2 separate regions of the Homo sapiens genome follow, and region 1 is linked to region 2. Evidence: promoter capture Hi-C in human tissues and cell types (Jung and others, 2019). All regions are on one chromosome and are shown on one strand. The core of a region is centred on a gene start or on the middle of the fragment in contact, and the rest is flanking DNA. Distances in the headings are between cores, read along the strand shown. Region 1 holds the start of TRIM28 (tripartite motif containing 28). Region 2 overlaps ZNF8-DT (ZNF8 divergent transcript).

Region 1 (5,000 bases), core at 1,982-4,481, 270 kb after region 2:
TCCCCACACAGACCCTGCTTCCCTCCTCAGACAGGATTCTCCCCACACAGACCCTGCTTCCCTCCTCAGACAGGATTCTCCCCACACAGACCCTGCTTCCCTCCTCAGACAGGATTCTCACCCCACACACCCTGCTTCCCTCCTCAGACAGGATTCTCCCCACACACACCCTGCTTCCCTCCTCAGACAGGATTCTCCCCCCACACACCCTGCTTCCCTCCTCAGACAGGATGCTCCCCACACACACCCTGCTTCCTTCCTCAGACAGGATTCTCCCCCCACACACCCTGCTTCCCTCCTCAGACAGGATTCTCCCCCCACACACCCTGCTTCCCTCCTCAGACAGGAAGCTCCCCCCACACACCCTGCTTCCCTCCTCATACAGGATTCTCCCCACACACACCCTGCTTCCCTCCTCAGACAGGATTCTCCCCACACAGACCCTGCTTCCCTCCTCAGACAGGATTCTCCCCCCACACCCTGCTTCCCTCCTCAGACAGGATTCTCCCCCCACACACCCTGCTTCCCTCCTCAGACAGGATTCTCCCCACACACACCCTGCTTCCCTCCTCAGACAGGGCTCCCCCCACACACCCTGCTTCCCTCCTCAGACAGGATTCTCCCCCCACACACCCTGCTTCCCTCCTCAGACAGGATTCTCTCCACACACACCCTGCTTCCCTCCTCAGACAGGATTCTCCCCACACACACCCTGCTTCCCTCCTCAGACAGGATTCTCCCCACAGAGACCCTGCTTCCCTCCTCAGACAGGATTCTCCTCACACACACCCTGCTTCCCTCCTCAGACAGGATTCTCCCCACACACACCCTGCTTCCCTCCTCAGACAGGATTCTCCCCACACACACCCTGCTTCCCTCCTCAGACAGGATTCTCCCCACACACACCCCGCTTCCCTCAGACAGGATTCTCCCCACACAGACCCTGCTTCCCTCCTCAGACAGGATTTTCCCCACACACACCCTGCTTCCCTCCTCAGACAGGATTCTCCCCACACAGACCCTGCTTCCCTCCTCAGACAGGGCTCCCCTCCCCACACAGACCCTCTTTCCCTCAGACAGGATTTTCCCCACACAAACCCTACTTTCCTCCTCAGACAGGATTCTCCCCACACAGACCCTGCTTCCCTCAGACAGGATTCTCCCCACACAGACCCTGCTTCCCTCCTCAGGCAGGATTCTCCCCACACAGACCCTGCTTCCCTCCTCAGACAGGATTCTCCCCACACAGACCCTGCTTCCCTCCTCAGACAGGATTCTCCCCACACAGACCCTGCTTCCCTCCTCAGACAGGATTCTCACCCCACACACCCTGCTTCCCTCCTCAGACAGGATTCTCCCCACACACACCCTGCTTCCCTCCTCAGACAGGATTCTCCCCACACAGACCCTGCTTCCCTCCTCAGACAGGGATTCCCCTCCCCACACAGACCCTCTTTCCCTCAGACAGGATTTTCCCCCCACACACCCTGCTTCCCTCCTCAGACAGGATTCTCCCCACATACACCCTGCTTCCCTCCTCAGACAGGATTCTCCCCACACACACCCTGCTTCCCTCCTCAGACAGGATTCTCCCCACACAGACCCTGCTTCCCTCCTCAGACAGGGCTCCCCTCCCCACACAGACCCTCTTTCCCTCAGACAGGATTTTCCCCACACACACCCTACTTTCCTCCTCAGACAGGATTCTCCCCACACAGACCCTGCTTCCCTCAGACAGGATTCTCCCCACTCAGACCCTGCTTCCCTCCTCAGGCAGGATTCTCCCCACACAGAACCTGCTTCCCTCCTCAGACAGGATTCTCCCCACACACACCCTGCTTCCCTCCTCAGACAGGATTCTCCCCACACACACCCTGCTTCCCTCCTCAGACAGGATTCTCCCCACACAGACGCTGCTTCCCTCCTCAGACAGGATTCTCCCCACACAGACCCTGCTTCCCTCCTCAGACAGGGTTCCCCTCCGCACACACACCCTCTTTCCCTCAGACAGGATTTTCCCCACACAAACCCTACTTTCCACCTCAGACAGGATTCTCCCCACATGGACCTGCTTCCTTCCCTCCTTGGGATTCCCCACTGTTGAGGTTCAGTTTCCCCATCTGGAAAAGCATCAAAGTCAGGGTAGCTGCTGACGAAAACATGGGGAGGGGATGCCTTGGGGGGCTGGGTGGGATTTCACAGACTCATTGCTCTTTAGCCTCTTGTGATTTATATATATGTGTATATATATATATATATTTTTTTTCTTGATGGGGGGTTGGGGGGCCCGGCGTGGTGGCTCACACCTGTAATTCCAGCACTTTGGGAGGCCAAAGTGGGTCTATCATCTGACGTCGGGAGTTCGAGACCAGCCTGGCCAACGTGGTGAAACCCCGTCTCTATTAAAAATACAAAAATTAGCCAGGCGTGATGGCAGGCCCCTGTAATCCCAGCTACTCGGGAGGCTGAGGCAGAAGAATCGCTTGAACCCGGGAGGCGGAGGTTGCAGCGAGCCGAGATCGTGCCACTGCACTCCAGCCTGGGCAACAGAGCAAAACTCCGTCTCAAAACAAACACAAAAACCTTTCTCTCCTCTTTTGAGATGGAGTTTCACTCTTTTCTCCCAGGCTGTAGTGCAATGGCACGATCTCGGCTCACTGCAACCTCCGCCTCCCGGGTTCAAGCGATTCTCCTGCCTCAGCCTCCCGAGTAGCTGGGATTACAGGCGCCTGCCACCACGCCCGGCTACTTTTTGTACTTTTAGTAGAGACGGGGTTTCACCACGTTGGCCAGGCTGCTCTCGAACTCCTGACTTAAGATCCAACCGCCTCGACCTCCCAAAGTGCTGGAATTACAGGCGTGAGCCGCCGCGCCCGGCCACATTTTTCTCCATCTGTGGTCTAGGCTGGCGTGCAGTGGCACAATCCCGCCTCACTGCTGCCTCGGCCTCCTGGGCTAAACGGAGCTTCCCGACTCGCCTAAGAAAGTGGTGGGATTACAGGTATGAGCCACGGCGCCCGGCTGTGATCTACATTTGATTCAGTCAAGTTTCTGTGTTTCTCAAGTTTAACTATAGCGTGGTTAAAATCCAAAAGTCAGCACCCGAGCTCACACAGGAGCTTCCTCCCTCTTGGGATGGAGACTCTCCTCCCCTCTCCCTGGACACAGCCCTTCACTCGGTCTTGGCCCCGCCTACTTCTCCATCGGCCCTGCCCCCTATCCCGAACTCTTAGTGACGCAGAGGCTGGAGACGACTCTACGGCGGCGAAGAGACGCGGGTTGAGGAAGAGGGACGGATTGCCCATGCGCTTGGGCGCACAGCGGCCCGCTTCTGTGTGGTCTGGAGGTGGAGCTGAGAGGGGAATCACACTCTATAAAGGTTCGCATACCCCACTGGCGGATTCAATTGCGGCAGTGACGTCACAGAGGCCCCGCCCCGCCCCCACAAGAGCCCCACCGACGTGGGGTTGGCGGTGGTGGAAGGACTAGGAGTTGGCGCGTGCGTACTGGCGGCCTCTCCCGCACCGACCGGCCTGGGCCCCGCCCCCGGGCGTGAGGCGCCCAATGCGCGTGCGCGGCGGCGTCGGCGCCAGTTATTTCTGTCCCGCCCCCCGGCCTCGGCTCTTTCTGCGAGCGGGCGCGCGGGCGAGCGGTTGTGCTTGTGCTTGTGGCGCGTGGTGCGGGTTTCGGCGGCGGCTGAGGAAGAAGCGCGGGCGGCGCCTTCGGGAGGCGAGCAGGCAGCAGTTGGCCGTGCCGTAGCAGCGTCCCGCGCGCGGCGGGCAGCGGCCCAGGAGGCGCGTGGCGGCGCTCGGCCTCGCGGCGGCGGCGGCGGCAGCGGCCCAGCAGTTGGCGGCGAGCGCGTCTGCGCCTGCGCGGCGGGCCCCGCGCCCCTCCTCCCCCCCTGGGCGCCCCCGGCGGCGTGTGAATGGCGGCCTCCGCGGCGGCAGCCTCGGCAGCAGCGGCCTCGGCCGCCTCTGGCAGCCCGGGCCCGGGCGAGGGCTCCGCTGGCGGCGAAAAGCGCTCCACCGCCCCTTCGGCCGCAGCCTCGGCCTCTGCCTCAGCCGCGGCGTCGTCGCCCGCGGGGGGCGGCGCCGAGGCGCTGGAGCTGCTGGAGCACTGCGGCGTGTGCAGAGAGCGCCTGCGACCCGAGAGGGAGCCCCGCCTGCTGCCCTGTTTGCACTCGGCCTGTAGTGCCTGCTTAGGGCCCGCGGCCCCCGCCGCCGCCAACAGCTCGGGGGACGGCGGGGCGGCGGGCGACGGCACCGGTAAGTACGAAGTGATCGGTGCCACCCCTCCCCCTACTCTCTGCCTTTGATTCCGACTGGGTGCAGAGATGAGGATGCCACCTGGGCGAGAGGATGGGGGCCCGGACAGGGCACGGGAAATACTTTCTGGGTCCTGCATACGAACGTGGGTTTGTGCTGGCCGCTGAGATGGGACATCTGACTAAAGTTGGAGAAAAGAAGGCTCGGGGAGGGGAGGGGCTGGTTCGCTGCGGGATAATGGTCGGGGGCCCACCCAGCAGGGGAATGGTGGGGGCCATAACCTGGGTGGGAACTTGTAACAGTCTCCCACATCCCTGCTTCTCGAAGTGGTGGACTGTCCCGTGTGCAAGCAACAGTGCTTCTCCAAAGACATCGTGGAGAATTATTTCATGCGTGATAGTGGCAGCAAGGCTGCCACCGACGCCCAGGATGCGAACCAGGTGCGTCCTATCTCAGCAACCACAAGGAGGTTTCTGGGGAGGGGGCATCTGCGCAGGAGGAGCTTGGCACCAGCTCCAGGCTGTTACTCCACTTTCCCAAGGCTCTGGGTGGGCTGCCTAGGTTGGGTCAAGGGACCAATCTTAAATCTCCGGTTGTATTTTCTGGGATGTAAACGTGGATCTATCAAGTTGTCTTGCCTTCTCTGACCCTGCCTTTGTCTGGCAGTGCTGCACTAGCTGTGAGGATAATGCCCCAGCCACCAGCTACTGTGTGGAGTGCTCGGAGCCTCTGTGT
Region 2 (4,566 bases), core at 50-2,549:
GAATCGCTTGAACTCGAGAGGTAGAGGTTGCAGTGAGCTAAGATTGTGCCACTGCACTCCAGCCTTGGGCGACAAAGCGAGACTCTGTCTCAAAAAAAAACAAACAAAAAAAATGTCAGGGTCGGGCATGGTGGCTCACACCTGTAATCCCAGCTACTTGGGAGGCTGAGGTAGGAGAATTGCTTGAACCCAGGAGGTGGAGGTTGCAGTGAGCTAAGATTGTGCCACTGCACTCCAGCGTGGGCGACAAAGCGAGACTCTGTCTCAAAAAAAAAAAAAAAAAAAAAGATGGCAGGGCTGGCATGGTGGCTCACGCCTGTAATCCCAGCACTTTGGGAGACCGAGGCAGGTGGATCACTCTAGGTTAGGAGTTTGAGACCAGCCTGGCCAAGATGGTGAAACCCTGTCTCTACTAAAGATACAAAAATTAGCCAAGTGTGGTGATAAATGCCTGCAATCCCAGCTACTCAGGAGGCTGACGCAGGAGTATCACTTGAACCTGGGAGGCAGAGGTTGCAATGAGTCTAGATCATGCCACTGGACTCCAGCCTGGGCGACAGAATGAGACTCTGTCTCAAAACAGAGCAAATGGCATGGCAGAACCTTCTCTAGAGAAAATAGTTTTGAATCTAAGAAAGGAATAGCTTTAATCTAGAAAAGGAATAGGGCAAGAAAAGGAATGTTTATTCACCCATAACTTAAAAAAAAAGGTAATTTTAATTGAAGGCTTCAAGGTAAATTGTGCTCAAACTATACAAATTCTGCTAGATGGTTATAGTTCCTATGTGAAGGTAACTTTAGAAAGTAGTGTTCACTTGACACTGATGTGAGTAATTCTTGCTGGAGGGGGCAAAAAGCTCATGAAATTTGAATAAAGGAGGAGGAGATGCAGTCAGATTGTTGATTGACCCTTCAGGGAATGGCATTTGCATAGCTGTGACGTGAACCCTAGGTATTGGCTTTTTTTTTCTTTTTTTTTGAGAAGGAGTCTCTGTTGCCCAGTCTGGAGTGCAGTGGCGCGATCTTGGCTCACTGTAACCTCCGCCTCCCGGGTTCAAGCAATTCTCCTGCCTCAGCCTCCTGAGTAGCTGGGATTACAGGCACGTGCCACCACGCCCAGCTAATTTTTGTATTTTTAGTAGACACAGGGTTTCACCATGTTGGTCAGGATGGTCTCCAACTCCTCACCTTGTGATCCGCCCACCTTGGCATCCCAAAGTGCTGGGATTACAGGGATGAGCCATTGCACCCGGCCTGTATTGGCTTTTAATTTTTAGGAAGTAACACATGGCTGTGACCTGACAACTTCATAGTGGCCGTAGGGTAGGGCACTGTTGTCATTATTCCTGTCACTGACAATGTCAGCCCCACCTGCAGATGTGGGAGAGTAGATGGGGAAAGTAGTAGTGGAGAGTAGAGGTTTCCCTTACCATCCTTTTAGGAAGTAGGCTTTTAAACATGATATGTAAGTTTATTTAGAAGATGAAAATTAAAGCTTGAAATGTAATATGAGAGGAATTGGCAGCGGATGTGAGTCAGATCCTCACCTGTCAGAGCAGGAAGTTAGTGAAAACTAAAGATGATTGGCTGGATGCGGTGGCTTATGCCTGTAATCCCAGCACTTTGGGAGGCTGAGGTGGGTGGATCACCTGAGGTCAGGAGTTTGAGACCAGCCTGGCCAACATGGTGAAACTCTGTCTCTACTAAAAATACAAAGATTAGCCCAGCGTGGTGGTGGGCACCTGTAATCCCAGCTACTCAGGAGGCTGAGGCAGGAGAATCGTTTGAACCCAGGAAGTGGAGGTTGCAGTGAGCTGAGATTGCATCACTGTGCTCCAGCCTGGGCAACAGAGTCAGACTCCGTCTCCAGGAAAAAAAAAAAAAAAAAGACTAAAGATGATCAAAGATTAGAATTACGGAGGTGTCCTCAAGAAGAATTGGAACAGATATGGTTAAAAGTGGCTGGAGGTGGGTGCAGTGGATATGGTGGTGCACACCTGTAATCCCAGTGCTTTGGGAGGCTGAGGCAGGTGGATCACTTGAGCCTAAGAGTTGGAGACCAGCCTGGGCAACATGGCGAGACCTGGTCTCTACAAAAAATACAAAAATTAGCCGGGCATAGTAGCACATACCTGAAGTCCCAGCTACTCAGGAAGCTGAGTTGGGAGGATTCTTTGACCCCAGGAGGTTGAGGCTGCAGTTAGCTGTTATTATATCACTGCACTCCAGCCTATGTGACAGTGTGAGACCCTATCTCAAAAAAAAAGTGATGTCGGGAGGCTGAGAGGATGAGTGACTGGGGCAGGAGATGAGTACTTTCCCTTTTAAGCCCATAGCATTTAATTCCCTGGTGGTTCACTTCTTATTTGGATAACTAACAAATTATTTCAAATGTGTGCCTATAGGTGAGAGAAGCAATGGTACATGAGGAGGTAAGCATTTGATTTGTGGGATTATGAACAACTGTCCTACTCTCCTTTTGATTCGGTGTCTCTGTATTAGTGATCTGACAATTTAAAAAATCAAGCAAGAGCAGGCTGGGCGCAGTGGCTCATGCCTGTAATCCCAGCACTTTGGGAGGCCGAGGCGGGCGGATCACTTGAGGTCAGGAGTTGAAGACCAGCCTGGCCGACATGGTGAAACCCTGTCCCCACTAAAAATGCAAAAATTATCTGGGCGTGGTGGTGGGTGCCTGTAATGCCAGCTACTTGGGAGGCTGAGCAGGAGAATCGCTGGAACCCGGGAGTTGGAGATTGCAATGAGCCGAGATTGCCCCACTACACTCTAGCCTGGGCAACAGAGTGAGACTCCTTGACAGGAAAAAAAAAAAAAAAAAGCATAAAGAAAAGATGTCAGACTTGTCTGTTTGGCCAGTTTGAGTTTATTTCAGCAGGCAGGGCAGGAAGGTTCCTTGGCTTCCTAGAATCCCCTGGAGTTGGATGGGTGTGGTGGCTTACACCTGTAATCCTAACAGACCAAGGCCCAGGTGGAAGGATCAACTGAGGCCGTGAGTTTGAGATTAGACTGGGCAACATGGCAGGACTCTGTCTCTGCAAGAAATAAAAAACCAGGTGTGGTGGCACGCGCCTGTTGTTCCAGCTACTCAGGAGGCTGAGGTGTGAGATCACTTGAGCCTGAGAAGTTGAGGCTGCAGTGAGCTGAGATTGCACCACTGCATTCCAGCCTGGGCAACAGAGTGAGACCCTGTTTCTTTAAAAATAAAAATAAAAATAATCCCTTGGATTTAAAGGGAGTGGGTTAGTCCTTGAAGATTTGATTTTCCAGAATTCTTATCAAGAAGAAGTTGAGGCGGGAGAATCATGAGGTCAGGAGTTCAAGACCAGCCTGGCCAACATGGTGAAACCCCGTCTCTACTAAAAGACGTGGTGGTGCGTGCCTGTAAATCCAGCTACTCAGGAGGCTGAGGCAGGAGAATTGCTTGAACCGGGACCTGGGAGGCGGAGGTTGCAGTGAGCTGAGATCGTGCCACTGCACTCCAGCCTGGGCTACAGAGCGAGTCTCCTTCTCAAAAAAAAAAAGAAAAGAAAAGAAAAAAAGGCCGGGCGCGGTGGCTCATGCCTGTAATCCCAGCACTTTGGGAGGCCGAGTTGGGCAGATTGCAAGTTCAGGAAATCGAGACCATCCTGGCTAACATGGTGAAACCCATCTCTACTAAAATTACAAAAATTAGCCGGGTGTGGTGGCGCATGCCTGTAATCCCAGCTACTTGGGAGGCTGAGGCAGGAGAATCGCTTGAACCCAGGAGGCGGAGGTTGCAGTAAGCCAAGATCGCACCATTGTACTCCAGCCTGGGCAACAAGAGCGAAACTCTGTCTCAAAAAAAAAAAGAAGAAAGAAACCAAAAAAGTAGAAAATCATATTATCATATACTTTAATAGCACAACAAAATTACAAATTAATAATTGTGGGTATTTTAGAATATATATGAAACAGCTATTTGGTCAAAGAGGAAATAAAAATACTACATCTGTTTAAGTAAAAATAAGTACTCTGTATCAAATGATCAACATGAATACAAAATACCAAAGCTTGCCTAAAGCCTAGGCCGGGAACGATGGCTCACGCCTGTAATCCCAGCACTTTGGGAGGCCAAGGTGGGCGGATCACCAGGTCAGGAGATAGAGACCCGCCTGGCCAACAGGCCGAAACCCTGTCTCTACTAAAAATACAAAAAATTAGCCGGGCGTGGTGGCGGGTGTCTGTAATCCCAGCTATTTGGGAGGATGAGGCAGGAGAATCGCTTGAACCCGGGAGGTGGAGATTGCAGTGGGCCGAGATCGTGTCACTGCACTCCAGCCTGGGCGACAGAGTGAGACTCTGTCTCAAAAAAAAAAAAAAAAGCCTATTCTGTAGACAAGTGTGTCTCACGTTTTTTGTCTCAAGACCCCTTCACACTCTTAAAAGTCACTGAAGACCCTAAACAGTTTTTGTTTTGTTTTGTTTTCCCCCAAGACAGAGTCTTGCTCTGCCGCCAGGCTGGAGTGCAGTGGCGTGGCCTCAGCTCACTGCAACCTCTGCCTCCCGGGTTCAAGTGATTCTCCTGCC

What was found. The method cuts DNA at HindIII sites, captures the fragments that hold promoters and counts their contacts. A contact is called where the count stands out against the background at its distance.
Region 1: the fragment with the promoter of TRIM28 here is called in contact with a fragment that was not itself captured in region 2 in 1 of the 25 tissues and cell types used here (liver).

What each region holds. Positions count from the first base shown.
Region 1 is chr19:58,540,833-58,545,832 of GRCh38, forward strand. TRIM28 (tripartite motif containing 28) reads left to right here and starts at 3,232. Exons shown (of 17, transcript NM_005762.3): 1 at 3,232-4,265; 2 at 4,593-4,705; 3 at 4,932-5,000. The coding sequence starts at 3,926. It also overlaps the pseudogene RN7SL525P. RefSeq lists enhancers at 2,407-2,911, 3,063-3,372 and silencers at 3,493-3,702, 3,783-3,942, 3,963-4,252. The HindIII fragment of the contact is 31,195 bases long and covers 1-5,000 here.
Region 2 is chr19:58,269,345-58,273,910 of GRCh38, forward strand. All of the region lies in intron 1 of ZNF8-DT (ZNF8 divergent transcript), which reads right to left. It also overlaps a transcript of ZNF544 not described here. Among named protein-coding and RNA genes, the nearest start is that of ZNF8-DT, 7.1 kb to the right of the region's middle. The HindIII fragment of the contact is 7,344 bases long and covers 1-4,566 here.